Regions from separate parts of the Homo sapiens genome. Here regions 2, 3 and 4 are each linked to region 1. Evidence: promoter capture Hi-C in 16 types of primary human blood cells and fetal thymus (Javierre and others, 2016). All regions are on one chromosome and are shown on one strand. Each heading gives the region's core, a stretch centred on a gene start or on the middle of the fragment in contact. The rest is flanking DNA. Distances are from core to core; before and after follow the strand shown.

Region 1 (4,133 bases), core at 1,139-3,638:
ACCACAGGCATAGGCTGCAGAGAGGGAGGCCGTGCGGCGGTCCAGCCAGGACTCCACGGCATGAGTGAGAGAATCCTGGGAGAAGGCGTAGGCCACAAAGCCTGCCACTGCTGCCACCAAGCTGAAGGCAGCCCGTAAATTCATGGGGCCTGCATGGAGCCCCAGGGTGTACTTGGCACCCACGCCCAGTGCCCAGGTCCCTGCCAGGCAAGCTGGGGCCAGCAGGGCGTGCACGGCAGTGGTACTGCTTTCCAGGTACACCACTTCCCTGGCCAAGGCGAACTTCTGGGCTTCACGGGACAAGGTCAGGGAAGCTCTCAGCCGGGCGCCTGCTGGGCTCCGCCAGTCCACTGTATGCCCATGTATGACCACGGGATGGTTAGTGTTGATCACTAGGTCTCCCAAGAAACTGGCAGGGATGCCCACCACAGCCCCAGCAGGGAGTCTTGGGAAGCCTGCACTCACAGGTTGGAAGGTGAAGGTGGTGAAGGGCTTGTAGCAATGGCCTGAAGGAACACCTATGTCCTGTAGCACCTCTTGGAAGAGGCTCTGCAGCTGTGGAGGGAGCGGAGCTGGCTGGCCCTGAGGCCAGTACTGGTAGAGCCATTGGACCACGGGATCCGGGAAGAGGTGGTACGAGATTGGAACTCCAAACAGGCCTGCACAGGAACCCACCAAGAGGCCTGTCCTGTGTCTCTGCACAAATGCTGCGGTCCGCCACAGGGGACCTGCCATGAGTGTAGTCACTGCGGACAATCTGGGCCAAGAAAAAGAGAAGTCAGCCAGTTTCCCTGGGTCAGCCTGCAGACTGAACATCCTCCAGGGTCCACACCACCTTTTTAAACCAAAGTAACACAGCATAGTGGTGAAGAGTGTGGGCTCTAGAGCCAGAGTGCCTGTGTTCAAATCCCAGCTCCGTCTCTGTGCGTCAATTTCCCCATGTGCCAAACAGGTGTGTCGTAATGGCCCACCTCTAGGGTGGCGGTGATGAGCACATGAATAAACATACATAAAACATTTAGTGTCTGGCACAGCAGCAGATATTCCTTATAATAATGGCTGTAATGACTTTTATTCCCATCGCTGGGCACGGCACTCCAACTGCCTCATTCCACTCATCCCATGGTAAAGCCCTATGATTACTAATTTATAAGGAAAAACGTGTTCAATTTATTGAGTGCTTACTATATGCTAGACTCAGTTCTGAGCACTCTTACCGATTGAACCCTCACAACCCCATGACCTAATTACTACAGCTAACCCTATTTCAAAGCTGTGAAAACTTAAATGGCCAAAATCCTAAGCTAGTGAAGTGACAGTGTTATGGGCTGCACTGTGTCTCCTCCTCCTCCCCAGTTCATATATTTAAGTCCTAACCCCCAGTACCTCAGACTGTGGCTGTATTTGGAGACAGGGTCTTTAAGGAGATAATTAAGATAAAATGAGGCCATCAGTATGGATCCTAATCCAATTTGACTGGTGTACTTATAAGAAGAGATTAGGATGCAAACAGGCACAGCAGGAAGATCATGTGAGGATCCAGGGAAAAGGCTACCACCTACAAGCCAAGAAGGGAGGTCTCAGAAGACACCAACCCTGTTAACACCCTGGTCTTGAACTTCCAGCCTCCATAACTCCCAGAGGACAAATTTCTGCTGGTTGGGCCACCCAGTCTCCGGTACTTCGGCATGGCAGCTCTAGCAAGCTAACACAGGCATAGTCAGGTGTCCACAGCAAACTTTTTGTTTTAGAAAACTTGTTATGCCAAATTACAAGCATATACCAAAGTAGACAAAATAGTACATCCATCAACTTCAATCCCATCAACTCATGGCCAATCTTGTTTGATTTCTCTTTCCACCACACTTCCGTCCAACTGGTTTATTTTGAAACATCCCCGGGCATCCTATCACTTCATCCGTGAATACGTCAGTAAAAATTCACAATTATTTCACTTTGATTGAAACTTACTGTATTCCTGTCCGTGAAAAGTGCTTAATGAGCAACGAATGAGTTGCCGCAAACAAAAACGCAGGGTACCGCTTGGCCTATCTTAATCAAGAACTCCTATAAGAATCATTATCATTCGGGCTTTTTTTTTTTCCCAATGCGGAAAGTGAGGCTAAGAAAGGAAAGGTCTGGACCAAAGTCCAACGTCCCTAGGGCCATCGCGCTGCGGGGTGGGCCTAGAACACAGTACCATGCAGCCCGCCGGTGGCTGGGGGAGGAGGGGCTGCAGGAGCCCCGCAGAGGGGTCCTCGCTACGCTTCCACTCTGGGCCCCTAGGCTACTCCGCAGTCTGAACGCGTTACCGGGTCGCATCAGGCCGGAGAAGGGTCCCTCCCGCTCGTCCGTGCGCTCACCTCCGCCGCCGCTCGGAACGCCTACATGTGCGCGCGGCAGGGCGGCCGCAAAGCACGCCGGCCGGGGATCTGGGGGCGGGGACTTCGGGAGGCGGAGCTCGCCGGCCCCGGATCTTGGGATGGGGACTTCAGGGGGCGGAGCTCGCCGGCCGGAGATCTCGGGGCGAGGATTTCAGGGAGGGGAGCTCGCTCGACGGGTCTGGGGGCGGGACTCTTGGGGGTGTGGCTGGGGGGGCCTCAAGGGGATGTCCGTGGGGGGCTCCGGCCGCCGCAGAGGCTCCTTCTCTAACTGTGCACCTTGGGGTGGGTCCGCTAGCACTTCCTCCTCTGCGTTGAAATGCGTCTTTGATTAATACAAAAATTAGCTGGGCGTGGTGGCGCACGCCTGTAGTCCCCAGCTGCTGGGGAGGCTGAGGCAGGAGAATCGCTTGAACCTGGGAGGCAGAGGTTGCAGTGAGCCGAGAATACGCCACTGCACTCCAACCTGGGCGACAGAGCGAGACTCCGTCACACACACACACACACACACACACCCCGGTGTCTTTGATCATGCCACACACACACACACACACACCCCGGTGTCTTTGATCATGCCACACACACACACACACACACACATACCCTGGTGTCTTTGATCATGACACACACACACACACACACCCACCCCGGTGTCTTTGATCATCACACACACACACACACACACACACACACATCCCGGTGTCTTTGATCATGCCGTTGAACCCCCGAAGGAACGGCAGCCCCGCGTGGGTCACCAGGCGGCCTATGGCAGGGCCCCCATCAGAACCCATGCCCATCTGACTGGCCGGCCCGTGTACTTCTCCGTCTGGAAGCGCTCACCCTTGGCGGGGAGCTCTGAGCTTTATGTTTATTACCATGTTCGCTGCCCCCCAAGCTCCTCCCAGGTGCTTCACACTGTACAGTCCACAGAGCAGCGTGCCATCTGTCATTTCTCCTTTCCAGCTGCTCTGTGAGGTAGATGAGGGATCATCTAATCTGTGCACCAAATCCAGCTCTCCACCTGCTTTTGTAAATAAAGTTTTCTTGGAACACAGCCATGCCCAATCCTTTACAGAGGGTGAAAACAGACTGCCTAGGGTTAAAGCCGGGCTCCACCCCTTACTAGCTGTGTGATAAAATGAGTTGGTGTATATGTAACCTGTGCCTCACGGTTTGTGCCGCCTAGCCATTAGCTATTATTATTAAAGTCTGTTCTGTTTCTGAGCCCCCCCCCCCAATTTTGGCTGCTCAGTTGTTTGTATGTAAATAGTGCAATGTGACCTCAGCCAAAGCCAGAATGTGGGACATTCTACAGGGCAAATGACGTGGTTTATCCAACAAATCAATGGCATAAACAGGGAAGGAGGGGGACTCAAAAGAAAAGAGACTTGAGAGTCATTGCAGTTAAATGCAATATGTGACTTTTATTGGGATCCTGAACCAAATAAACTAACTGTAAAAAAGACACCTTGGGCTGGGCGCGGTGGCTTACGCCTGTAATCCTGGCACTTTGGGAGGCCAAGGAGGGCAGATCACCTGAGGTCAGGAGTTCAAGACCAGCCTGGCCAACATGGTGAAACTCCGTCTCTACTAAAATACAAAAATTAGCCAGGCATGGTGGCACACGCCTATAATCCTAGCTATTCAGGAGGCTGAGACGGGAGAATCGCTAAAACCTGGGAGATGGTGGTTGCAGTAAGCCGAGATTGTGCCACTGCACTCCAGCCTGGGTGGCTAAGTGAGACTCTGTCT
Region 2 (4,133 bases), core at 1,213-3,712, 490 kb before region 1:
GGGACCTGTGTATATATGGGCAAAACTCATCAACGAATGGGCTCCCTGGTGATTATTTGGCAGATTCCTGGCAATTTCATCAGAGGATCCAAAAATGTATGTGCAGGCCTTTTTCTCTTTGGTTGGTTGGCTTCTCCAGAGAATAAGCCTCTTTTTCAACTCAGACATTTATACTTAGCTAACAGCATTCAGGAAACTGAGAAAAGAAGGAACGTTGGAAATTTCACCCTTCAGTGTGTGGACTTTGAGTTAGTCTTCCCGTGTTCAGTCTAGAGCCTTACTCCAAATGGAAATTCCAAGATCCAGAGCCTCTCTGGCCTGGCTCCTCCCGAGGGAAAACTTCAGAATTATGCTAAAATGGGCAAGGGTAGTGGGATGGCAGATGAGTGAAATGGGCATAAATACTTTCAACCAATCCCCATATTCTCAGCTCCACTTTGTACCCCATCTTCACAAGTATCTGGTACCTACAATTTCGTTGCCTTTTCAGGGTTCTGCAGTGTGAACTGGCTTGCTTTTTATTTTGTTTCTACTCCCTCCCCTATTCAGGCTTAGATTTTAGTTTACTCCACTCTGCTAAACTGGTTACCACTTATCATTTAGCTGCTTCCCAAAACTTGTTGAGGTCTCTTAATTGCTGATGTCTCCTTTCCTGTTCTTTGTCCTCATGATTTGATGCCTTTGAAACACAGTATCACACAGAGAACGCTGCAAAGTAAATCTAAATCTGTGGAGATGGGTGGGACCCAGTCATCATTTTTAAAAATTACTATAACATCTATATATTAAAGCACATAAGGCATGAGTTTACAGCTTGAACAACTTTTTGCAAATTGAATACACCTCTGTAATCAGCATGTAGAATATGAAACGGAACACTACTAGCACTCCCAAAGCTGCTTTTGGGCTCTCTTCTATTCACTAGCACATCAAGGGTAACCATTATAGAGTTGTGCTCCTGTTTGAACTTGATTTTGTTTATCCTTATTACAGTGGAGAAACTCCAAGATGAACCCCAAAGATCTCCATCTCCAGCTGTTCACACTCCTATGTAATCTCTAGCCCTTGGGTGTGGAAAGGACTTGTGACTTACTTTAACCAACAACAGAATATAGCAAAGGTAAAAGGATGTTATTTCTGTGATTAGACTATACAAGATTGTGACTTCTGTCTTGCTAGCAGACTCTACTGCTTTCTCAGTTTGCATGCTAGAATAAAGTAAGGAACTACTTTGGAGAGGCCCACATGGTAAGGACTGAGGGCAGCTTCTTGGCAATCACCAGCTAGGAACTGAGTTCCTTAGTCTAACAGGTCTTCAGATCCTGAATCCTGCCAAGAGCTCTGGCTGGTGCCTCTCCTTCCATTGAGCCTTCAGATGAAAACCTGGCCTTTGCCAATATTTGACTGTAGCCTGTGAGAGACCCTGAAGCAGAGAACCCAGCTCAGCTACATCCAGATTCCTGAGCCACAGAAAATGAGATTATAAGTGTGTATTGTTTGAAGCTGCTAAGTTTTGTGGTAAGTTGTTGCACAGAAGTAGACAATTAATACAATTATGTTTATGTGATTCATCTATACTGCTACATTTTAGTTGTAGTTATTAATTTTCACTGCTCTTTTCTAATATTTATCTAGTCAACTGCTAATGTGCAGTTGGAAGGTTTTCAGTTTGGACTATTATGAATATAGGTGCTATAAAAATTCTTGTACATGTCTTTTGATGGACATATATTCACAGTTCCATTGGGTATTTATATAAAAATAGAATCACTGAATATGTTCAGCTTTAGTAGATGTTGCCAAACCTATTTCCAATGTGGTTACTCCAATTTACAGAGTTTCAGTTGCCCCATATCTTCACCAAAACTTGGTACTATGTGTCTTTCATTTTAGCCATTCTGGTGATAATGTAGCACTGTGACATGGTAGTTTGAATTTACATTCCCCACGGACTAATCAAGTTGCACACTGTCTAGAATGCTTACTGGCCATTTGGATATTGGTTTGTGAACTGCCTATTCAAGCTTTTTGCCCATTTTTCTATTATGCTATCATCTTTAGCTTACTTATTTGGAGGAACTCTTTATAAATTCTAGATATGAGTGGGTCCTTTGCCATACAAAGTTAAGACTGAGGTTGCGGAGGAAGGAGAAGGGAAGGGGGTGAGAGAGGGAGAGAGAGACAGAAGGAGGGATGGAGAACAAATGTTTTCTCCTATTCTGTGGCTTCCCCTTCCATAATATCTTGAAATTACATTTTTTGATGAACAAAATTTCTTGATATAATCCAAGTGATTTTTTTCCTGTAAGACTAAAGCTCCTTGTGAGCTGTTTAAAAGATCTTTGTCTATTCTAAGGTCACAAGTAAGTTCACTCATGTTTTCTTCTATAAGTTTATTATCTGATGTTTCATATTTAGATCTGCAATCCATCCAGAATGGATTTTTGTGAATGGTATGGAGTTGGGTCAAGATTATTATTTTTTCCCCACAGGGACAACTAATCTGTCCAGCTGATTTACTAAAAGAAAGACCATTCTTTCCTTACAGCATTGCATCATCATTTTTTTCATAAACCAGAAAACTGTATTACATATGAGTTTGTTTCCAGACTCTATTCTGTTCCATTGGTTTATTTGTAATTTTTATGTCTTTAAGCCCTTTATTACTCCTTTCCATGAGTTCTAGGAAGAAAGAGATAAGCTCTGCTTTCATCTGTAATTTTTAATGTGAAAGTCCTTAAGAGCTCACATTTTATTGTGTAAATTCAATTACAAAGCATTACCGTCGGGTTCTCTGTGTGCAGCTCTATTTTTACAGTGATCATTATTAGGCATACAAATGCTTAGAAAAATAATCCATTACATTTGTATAAAGCACTCTTTTACTAGATGTAAGCTTCCCAAATGTAGGTCTCTCATCTGTCTTGTTCACTGTTATCTTTAGTGTCAGATATCAGTCAATGCCTGGTACATCACAGACATTCAATAAGTGTTTGTTTGCTGAGTAATATGCTACTTTGAACACTGTGGAGACAATTTTGAAATTAAACTGAATTTCTTTCAAGTTAATGATCTCTAATAATTCATCCTACCTTTCTCTAATTAGGAAAGCATGTATTTCAACCGACCCACATTTTCAAGGAGGATATGTGAAATGTGGGATATATTCAGAAAAAAGGTCTGAGGTAGGAGTGAAGGCAATTCTAAATCTTTTGTAAAACAGGTGCAGTTATGGTTCTAGCAAATCAAAAGTTGAAGAACCAGATGCTGAACAAAAAGCTCTAGTTTTTGAGTCTAGTTTCTGTCTGTAGCAAGCAACGCCTTGAAATGAGCTCACAACATGTATTGGTAAAGGCATCTCAGGGCTCTCACCCTAGGAGTATCCTAACTTACCCACTTATACTGCACCTCTTCACCTGTGTTGACGGGCACCATCATTCATCACTATTACAGTAGGCATAATCATAATAAATAGTAAAGCGTAAAGGGAAACAATACAAATTGACTTTAAAACAACTATTACAAAGATAAGCCTGTTAACATCTTTAGCAAAGACTTGATAAAGAAACGCTAATACAGTTTTGTAGAAAATTGCTACTGACAAGAAAAAGCCACTACACTAAATAACAAACAGAAAAAAGATTTGCCCCATTTCAATATAGTTCAGTTAGGGAAGAATTGACATTGCTGCTTTAGAGATAATAAGTTTTATTATTTTTTTCTTCCTAACAGATGCCTAAGAACTGCAAATGAGAAATAATTTTCTCACCTGGTCACAGCATCTACCAAGAATGGCGCTGGGGGAGAGATCAGTGAGATTCCATCTTTATTACCATGTCCCTCCTTCCCTGTCAAAAGCATTTCACATCCCGCAAGTCCATTAGACATGGCACCACTCTGCTGTGGGAGATACACACACAACTAAATACAGGGTAACAATACCTGCCTGGTCAGCACTTCAGCTCCAAATCAAGCTTCACTAATGACTATGAGATTAACGAAGATGGTTTTGATAATTATGACTGTTTGTTTTGTTTTTCTTAACTATTCTTCATCTGAGACTTTTACTTTTGTTTCTGCCAGCATCCTGACAAACATTTACAACCAGAAAGGGTAAGCCACTAGCTTGAAGC
Region 3 (4,133 bases), core at 860-3,359, 440 kb before region 1:
ATACCATATACAAAAATTAACTCAAGATGGATTAAAGACTCAAATGTAAAACCGAAAACTATAAAAACCCTAGAAGAAAATCAAGGCAATACCATTCACGACAGAGGCATTGGCAAAGATTTCATGATGAAAATGCCAAAAGCAACTGCAACAAAAGCAAAAATTGACAAATGGGATCTAATTAAACTAAAGAGCTTCTGTACAGCAAAAACAAAAAACAAAAACAAAGACAAACAAAAAAAAACTGTCAGCAGAATGAACAGACAACTTACAGAATGGGAGAAGATTTTTGCAATATATCTATCTGACAAAGGTAATATCCAGAGGCTACAAGGAACTTAAACAAATTTACAAGAAAAAAAGCACATTAAAAAGTGGGCAAAGGACATGAACAGACACTTTTCAAAAGACATACATGCGGCCAACAAACATAAAAAAAAAATCTCAACATCACTGATCATTAGAGAAATGCAAATCAAAACCACAATGAGATACCATCTCACACCATGGAGAAAGGCTATTATTAAAAAGTCAAAAAACAACAGATGCTGGTGAGGTTGTGGAGAAAAAGGAATGTTTTACACTGTTGGTGGGAATGTAAATTAGTTCAACCACTGTGGAAGACAGTGTGGCAATTCCTCAAAGACCTAGAGGCAGAAATACCATTTGACCCACTGATCCCATTACTGGGCATATACCCAAAAGAATATCTTTCCATTGTAGAAATACATGCATGCATATGTCCATCACAGCACTATGCACCTAAGACATGGAATCAATCTAAATGCCCATAAATGACAGACTGGATAAAGAAAATGTTGCACATTTACACCATGGAATACTACGCAGTCATAAAAAGGAATGAGATCACGTCCTTTGCAGGGACATGGATAGAACTGGAAGCCATTAAACTAATGTAGGAACAGAAAACCAAACATGTTCTCACTTACAACTGGGAGCTGAATGATGCAAACACACGGACACAAGGAAGGGGGAACAACACACACTGGGGCCTGTCGGGGGTGTGGGGGAGGGAAAGCATCAGGAAGAATAGCTAATGGATGCTGGCTTAATACCCAGGTGATGGTATGATCTGTGCAGCAAAACACCATGGCACACATTTACCTATGTAAACAAACCTGCACGTTCTGCACATGTACCCCTGAGCTTAAAATAAAAGTTAAAGAAAAAATAAATAAATAAATAAATTTAGGTCTGAGACGGGGGTACAATTTTATTCTTTTCTATGTGGACATACAGTTGCCTCAGCACCATGATGAATTTCTTGAAAAGTGAGGTTGACATAATTGGAAAGCCATCTGGAAAATAACAAAATTAGATTTCATTACTCCTATCTTAAACCAAGTTTCAAAATGGATCTGAGATTCAAATGTAAGAAAATTAACCCATACAGTGCTGGAGGCAAGGATAGCTGAATTCCTCTAAAATGTAGCAGTGAGGAAAACTCTATTAAATTCCAGAAACTATTAAAGAAAAAACGGATCAATCTGCTTATATAAAAACTTTTAAAACTTTCGCACAGAAAAATACTAAAAGTAAACAGTGAAAAACTGAAAATATATTTTTGCAGCTTAAATACACAGAGTTAATATCCCAATTATCCACAAAAAAGCTTCTTAAAAGTAGAGAAGAAAAAGGCCAACAGCCTTGTTTAAAAATGGGGAGGGGGCAGGGGGAGAGGAACAAGCAATTTATGGAAAAAATGCAAATGGCTCTTAAACATACAAATATGCTACTGAGAGGGATTTAAATGAAAACTACGTGGAACATATTCATCATGAATCTTGATTATGGTGTTGGTTTCACGGGTCTGTGTCCAAACTCAAAACACTTTAAAGATGCACTTTATTGCACCAAGTGTACCTCGATAAAGCTCTAAGGAAAAAAACACACACTTAGATACCATATATTGTTTTTCAGATTGGCAAAAATCCCAGTCTTTCTTGATCCTTTGTCAGTGAGGCTATGAGAGGTAGAAGCACTCTCATACTCTGCTGGTCAAATGCAGAATCCTCAATGAAGGAGAGTCAGGCAATATCTAGAAAAATTAAAATTCATCTACGACCAAATAAATACCATAATCACACTGAGGAGGAAAGGGTACTAATCCAAGTAAATTTGAAGTGCAATACTTCAACTATATACTCTGTCTAAAAAGGAGAACCATGAAGAAATACTAAATGTCACTTAGATTTGTTGTTGACAGTGGCATGGGTATAGCAATTCTGAAACTGTTTAGCACATATTAACCAAATAGAAGCCAGGTTTCTCGCAGGGAAGAAGGGAGATAGGAATAAGGCATTGGGGAAGGCAATGAACCCTGGCAACTCACTTGGGAGTTAGAGTGTTGGCATGAATTTGGATTAAGAGACCAGAAGAACTTCTAAAGAAGTGGTAATTTCTATTTCTTAACCTGAAGAAAGATACTCAAACTGGAACTGTATTTTTTATAAACTTTTCTCTATATATTTATTTCACAATAAATTTTTAAAATTAAGGGCAAATGAAAAATATTTTCAAGGGTAACATCCAAGATGTTTTTATTATTTTCTAGTAGAAGCTTTAAATGGAAAAATCCTTTTGGATTTTTATATTACGCAAATTCCCAGTTGGTACTGTTTTCACAAACACACTAGTGTATTTTGACATTCATTCTTTTTTTCAGTAGTAGCATAAAGACTTACTACATTTAGGTAGATATAGTGGCTCATGCCTATAATCCCAACACTTTGGGAGGCTGAGGTGGGAGGATCACTTGAGCTCAGGAGTTCAAGACTAGCCTGAGCAACAGAGGAGACTGTATCTCTACAAAAAATAAAAAAAAATAAAAAAATTAGCCAGGTGTGGTAGCATGTGCCTATAGTCCTAGCTACTTGGGAGGCTGAAGTGAGATTACTTGAGTCTAGGAGATTGAGGCTGCAGTGAGCCATGATCAAACCACTGCACTCCAGACTGGAAGAGAGAGCAAGACCCTATCTCAAAAAACAAAACGCCATTCATCATTACTTTTAAGAAAATTTTCCTTCTTTTGGCAAGAAACATTATTTTCATGTTTAAGTTTCCAGTATAAGGCTTTTCCTAATCTTCCTAAATTTGAGGTTAAGAACCAGATTGGTGCAGAAGACTCAATTACCTCCTTCAATCATATAGGAAAAGGAAAGCGCACTGCAGAATCATTGTGAAAGCTGGATGAAATGATGAGAATACTGGAAAAATGTTTTTTCTAAATTTTAAATCTATGTTGATGGGCATACAATGCACAGAGACATATTCTGTAAGAGAAAAACAGCACAAAGTGGGAGACAAAGCTCTATAGAAGCAAAGTTTACATGTACTACTGACATTAAATTGGTATTTAATGTCCAAATAATCCAAACTAGATTGTTTTAAATTAAAATGTTAATTGTAGGCTGGGCAGTATGGCTCATACCTGTAATCCCAGCACTTTGGGAGGCTGAGGCGGGCAGGTCACTTGAGGCCAGAAGTTCAAGACCAGCATGACCAACATGGCAAAACCCTGTCTCTACTAAAAATACAAAAAATTAGCTGAGTGTGGTGGTGCATTCCTATAATCCCAGCTACTTAGGAGGATGAGGTATGAGAATCGCCTGAACCTCGGAGGCAGAGGTTGCAGTGAGTTGAGATCGTGCCACTGCACTCCAGCCTGGGTGACAGTGCAAGACTCTTGTCTCGAAAAATAACATAACGTAACGTAACGTAACATAACACAACATAACATATCACATAACATCAGATCACAACATAACATAAAATGTTAATTATAATCCCCAGGGTAACCATTAAGAAAACAATGTTTTAAAATAGAGAGGGCCAGGCATGGTGGCTCATGTCTGTAATTCCAGCACTTTGGGAGGCCGAGGCAGGCGGATCACAAGGTCAGGAGTTCGAGACCAGCCTGACCAACATGGTGAAACCCCGTCTCTACTAAAAATAAAAAAATAAAAATTAGCCAGGCATGGTGGTGGACACCTGTAATCCCAGCTACTCAGGAGGCTGAGGCAGGAGGTGGAGGTTGCAGTGAGCCGAGATCGTGCCACTGCACTCCCGGCTGGGTGACAGAGTGAGACTCCGTCTCAAAAAACAAATAAATA
Region 4 (4,133 bases), core at 543-3,042, 420 kb before region 1:
AAATGAGAAAAAAAGTTTCCTAATGTCAGACATTCTAAAACAAGGATAAATGGTATCCCTGAAGTAAGAAATTCAACTAATGTAAAAAATAATTCAAAAATATAAAAAAATTCCTTGAAAGTGAGAAAATAATTTACAGATTTAACGACAGCACTGTGTTTCAGGAAAATGAGACAGAAAATGAAATGCAATCGATCCCCTATTGTTCAGCCACTCAACTTCAAGGATAAGGAAAGAATACTTCGGGTACCCCGAGCAGATTTAAAAGTAAATCACTACCAATTATCAGGTTGGCAAAGGCCTCCCATAGCAGTAATCAAGAATATTATTTTATAACCAGCCAACATGTCATTCTACTAAGAGGAAACAGGCAAAGCTCTCAAACACAACCTCTGAATAGAGGATCCAGAAGCCTTTCTAACAAGGTGAGAGCAAAAAACCGCTACCTGATAATGAAAGCCAACCAGTTAAGAACCTAAGAATGAAGAGAGGCCCTGCTAAAACGCTGGGGAATGAAGAGTGAACATATTTTATATTCTATTTTTTTAAGAACTACAGATCAATTACAAGTTGAGTCACTATAACTTGCACTATCACTGTCTGGGTTCAAAGCCAAGCTGTGTCACTAGGTCTATTCTGTACACCTTGGGTTGCTCATTTGCATGAGACTGTTAGAACAACTAAATGAGTTAATATTAGCAAAATACAAATAACAGTGATTACAACAACAACAAAATACCTTTCAAAGAAATACTATTGGTGAGGCATGGTGGCTCATGCCTGTAATCCTAGCACTCTCAGGGGCCGAGGCAGGAGGACTGCCTGAGCCTAGGACTTTGAGACCAGCCTGGGCAACAGAGCCAGACCTCCAACTCTACAAAAAATTAAAAAATAGCTACGTGTGAGGGTGCGTGCCTGTAGTAGTCTCAGATACTTTGGAGGCTGAGGCAGGAGGACTGCCTGATCCCAGGAGGTTGAGGCTACAGTGAGCCATGATGATGCCACTGCATTGCAGCCTGGGTGACAGGGCAAGACCCTGTCTCAAAAAACAACAACAACAACAAAACCCCACCCCACCAAAACACACACACACACACACACACACACACACACAAAACAAACAATTTAGTGCAGATCCACTGCCATGGCAATTTTAAAGATTATACCCATCAGGCACAATTTCTTTTTACTAACCATGTTGCTCTTCCTAGAATACCCATGATCCTAAGTCTTAATGAAATCTCACCCAGCCTGCTTGGTACAGAAGTTAGACCTACTAGTCCACAGTTCCTTGGTTATTCTCTGAAGCTTTTCCTTTAACTAGAAATAACTTTAGTAGGTGATCAATAAGATTAACATGAGAACAAAATATTTATAAGTGATGTTAATTGAACCATAGCTTCCTGTTTTAAATTGTATGAAATACAGAAAGCATTATTTTCTGATAATTATATACATTCTTTCACTTCCATGAATATGAAGGAATTACTGAATTATTTCTCATTACTAACCTAGTTCAAGCTTCCCTTTTTAAAGGACTACATACAATAACTGACCATTTTTGCTTTTACATAGTATACCTTCTACTCATTTGATTTCCTCTACCATTTTTTCTTTTCCTCTTTCCTGTCTTCAAGACTGCATATTAAGCCTGTATAAGAAGTACTAGTAATTGAAATGTCAACTATCCTTTAAAACATCACCTCTTAAATACTTTATAGTATTCATGACTCACAAGAATAGTTAAGAGCCAAAACAGTACAAGAAAAATGACTGACATTAGCCAATTAAAAAATCTGTTATTCAAATGGGCATTTTACAAAACTGCAGAATACAAGGTCGAGAAGATTTTCAGGTCAAATAGTTGTGCCTTTTCAAACAGTACTGTTTTCCATGGTTCAATAGAGCAAAACTGTTCATACAAACAGAAATGGAAGGGCAAGAGTGAAAGGGCATACAACATGCCAGTCTGAGCTCAGGTTTTCTCAAGCACTGCGATGGGTGGTGCTCAATAACCTTCAGGAGAGTTGGGTCCCCCACTACATCTCATTTCTAAAAGCTTAGTCTAAAAAAAAACCATTCCTTAAATATACCATTTCTGCTATGTTTTCCAGAGTCAAAAGCATCACTAATGAAGAGACACCAACATTTAGCCATTAAAGTTAAATTAATCATAATTCCAAAACAGGCACTATATATATTCATATTTTACCAGAAATGTGTTTCAGAACATCTTAAAGAAAAACCTCCTATTTTGCAAATAAAAGCCTTAATTTTTCAACTACGTACCATTGCTGAATACTTTGTTTACATTTCTGCTAACTTTAGCAGGTACTCACTTTTTACTTTAAGCTCTAATATTCCATATCCCAGCCTCCTTTTCAGGAAAGCAAGACATAATACATTAAATAAACAAAATAGCTTCAAAGGTACAGAAAAATCTCAAACATTACTCCATTTTTCTTTTTCTTTTTATTATTTGAGATGGAGTCTTGCTCTATCACCCGGGCTAGAGTGCAGTGGCGCAGTCTCGGCTCAGTGCAACCTCCGACTCCAGGGTTAAAGCAATTCTCCTGTCTCAGCCTCCAGAGTAGCTGGGATTACAGGCGCGCACCACCACGCCCAGCTGATTTTTGTATTTTTAGTAGAGATGGGGTCTTGCCACGTTGGTCTGGCTGGTCTCAAACTCCTGACCTCAGGTGATCTGCCTGCCTTGGCCTCCCAAAGTGTTAGGATTACAGGCATGAGCCACTGCTCCCAGCCATTACTCTACTTTTCTGAAAAACATAGCTTATAAATAAATCCAAGAAAAATAAAAGTATACAGCACAGAAAAGGCACAAAATGTTGTTTTTTTACCTAATAAAAATCTCACGGAGAGAGTTTCACAGAAATTTCACTTCCTCCCTGTTATATTTATTTATTTATTTTCAACAGCCTATTGACAGCTAAAGAAACTTGAGGGGAGTCCTTGTTCAGAAAGCGGAGTGCTATTATAGTCAATCACTAATCACGGACTGGCTTTAACAGCTTTCAAAGTGAAAAAAAAATGGACATTTCAAGGTGAGGCTGATGATACTCAATATCCAAAAATAACCAACTTCTTTTGAAAAAAGTCTAGTGAGACAACTGCCATATAAGAGTACAGACAAATTCAAAAATAAATTAGATTTGTGGGTATGGTCTGAATCTTATCTTTAACAGGCATTCTAGGAGACTCTAATACATACCAATTATTAAGCATTATATGAGACCACAGATATAGCCTCATTGTAATAAGTAATATTAAAATTAATGGAGCCGGCTGGGCGTGGTGGTTCACACCTGTAATCCTAGCACTTTGGGAGGCCGAGACAGGCGGATCACATGAGGTCAAGAGTTCGAAACCAGCCTGGCCAACATGGTGAAATCCTGTCTCTACTAAAAATCCAAAAAATTAGGTGGGCATGGTGGTGCGTGCCTGTAATCCCAGCTACTTGGGAGGCTGAGGCAGGAGAATCGCTTGAACCTGGGAGGCGGAGGTTGCAGTGAGCCAAGATCATGCCACTGCACTCCAACCTGAGCGATAGAGCAAGACTCCGTCTCAAAAAAAATTAATTAATTAATTAAATTTAATTAATGGAGCCATCAGAAGCAAGACCTTCAGAATGGTAATTTGAAAACAAAAGTAGATACTCTCGCCAGTGAAACAAACATTTAAGTGGTTTAAAAAAAAAAATCAGTAAGCTTGAGGACAGGTCAAGTGAGATTATGTAGTCTAAAAAAAAAAAAGTATAAAGAGAAGCGAACAGACTCAGAGACCTGTAGGACACCATCAAGTGTAACAACTTACATGTTAATGAGAATTCCAGAAGGAGAAGAGAAAGACAGCATAAAGAATATCTAGAGAAATAATGGGTAAAAACTTCCAGACTTGATGAAAAGGTTATATCATGGAAAAGCAACCATATGAAAACTGGACTGGCAATATTTACATCAAATAAAATCAACTTTAAAACAAAAGTTACTAGAGATAAAAAGGAACAGTCCATCAGGATAATATAACAATTAACAACACATACATACCTACCCCAAATCCACAACATACATGAAACAAAAACAGAAAGAACTGAAGGAAGAAATAGACAATAGTTG

What was found. Contacts are between HindIII fragments. The CHiCAGO score rates a contact against its expected background, and 5 or more counts as called.
Region 2: a contact is called between a fragment that was not itself captured here and the fragment with the promoter of TMEM177 in region 1, in 9 of 17 cell types (total CD8 T cells, naive CD8 T cells, naive CD4 T cells and 6 more). The highest score is 11.1, in total CD8 T cells.
Region 3: a fragment that was not itself captured here is called in contact with the fragment with the promoter of TMEM177 in region 1 in 3 of 17 cell types (non-activated CD4 T cells, total CD4 T cells and total CD8 T cells); the score reaches 7.6 in non-activated CD4 T cells.
Region 4: a contact is called between a fragment that was not itself captured here and the fragment with the promoter of TMEM177 in region 1, in 1 of 17 cell types (activated CD4 T cells). The highest score is 5.5, in activated CD4 T cells.

Annotation. Positions count from the first base shown.
Region 1 is chr2:119,677,456-119,681,588 of GRCh38, reverse strand. TMEM177 (transmembrane protein 177) reads right to left here and starts at 2,388. Exons shown (of 2, transcript NM_030577.3): 1 at 2,313-2,388; 2 at 1-757. The coding sequence starts at 735. RefSeq lists a silencer at 2,312-2,541. The HindIII fragment of the contact is 6,463 bases long and covers 1-4,133 here.
Region 2 is chr2:120,167,644-120,171,776 of GRCh38, reverse strand. EPB41L5 (erythrocyte membrane protein band 4.1 like 5) reads right to left here. Exons shown (of 25, transcript NM_020909.4): 24 at 3,770-3,900. It overlaps LOC105373582 (a long non-coding RNA gene), which reads left to right. Exons shown (of 2, transcript XR_007087216.1): 1 at 1-1,120; 2 at 3,733-4,133. Among named protein-coding and RNA genes, the nearest start is that of TMEM185B, 54 kb to the left of the region's middle. The HindIII fragment of the contact is 872 bases long and covers 2,027-2,898 here.
Region 3 is chr2:120,115,407-120,119,539 of GRCh38, reverse strand. All of the region lies in intron 16 of EPB41L5 (erythrocyte membrane protein band 4.1 like 5), which reads right to left. Among named protein-coding and RNA genes, the nearest start is that of EPB41L5, 100 kb to the right of the region's middle. The HindIII fragment of the contact is 948 bases long and covers 1,636-2,583 here.
Region 4 is chr2:120,095,138-120,099,270 of GRCh38, reverse strand. All of the region lies in intron 14 of EPB41L5 (erythrocyte membrane protein band 4.1 like 5), which reads right to left. Among named protein-coding and RNA genes, the nearest start is that of EPB41L5, 84 kb to the right of the region's middle. The HindIII fragment of the contact is 538 bases long and covers 1,524-2,061 here.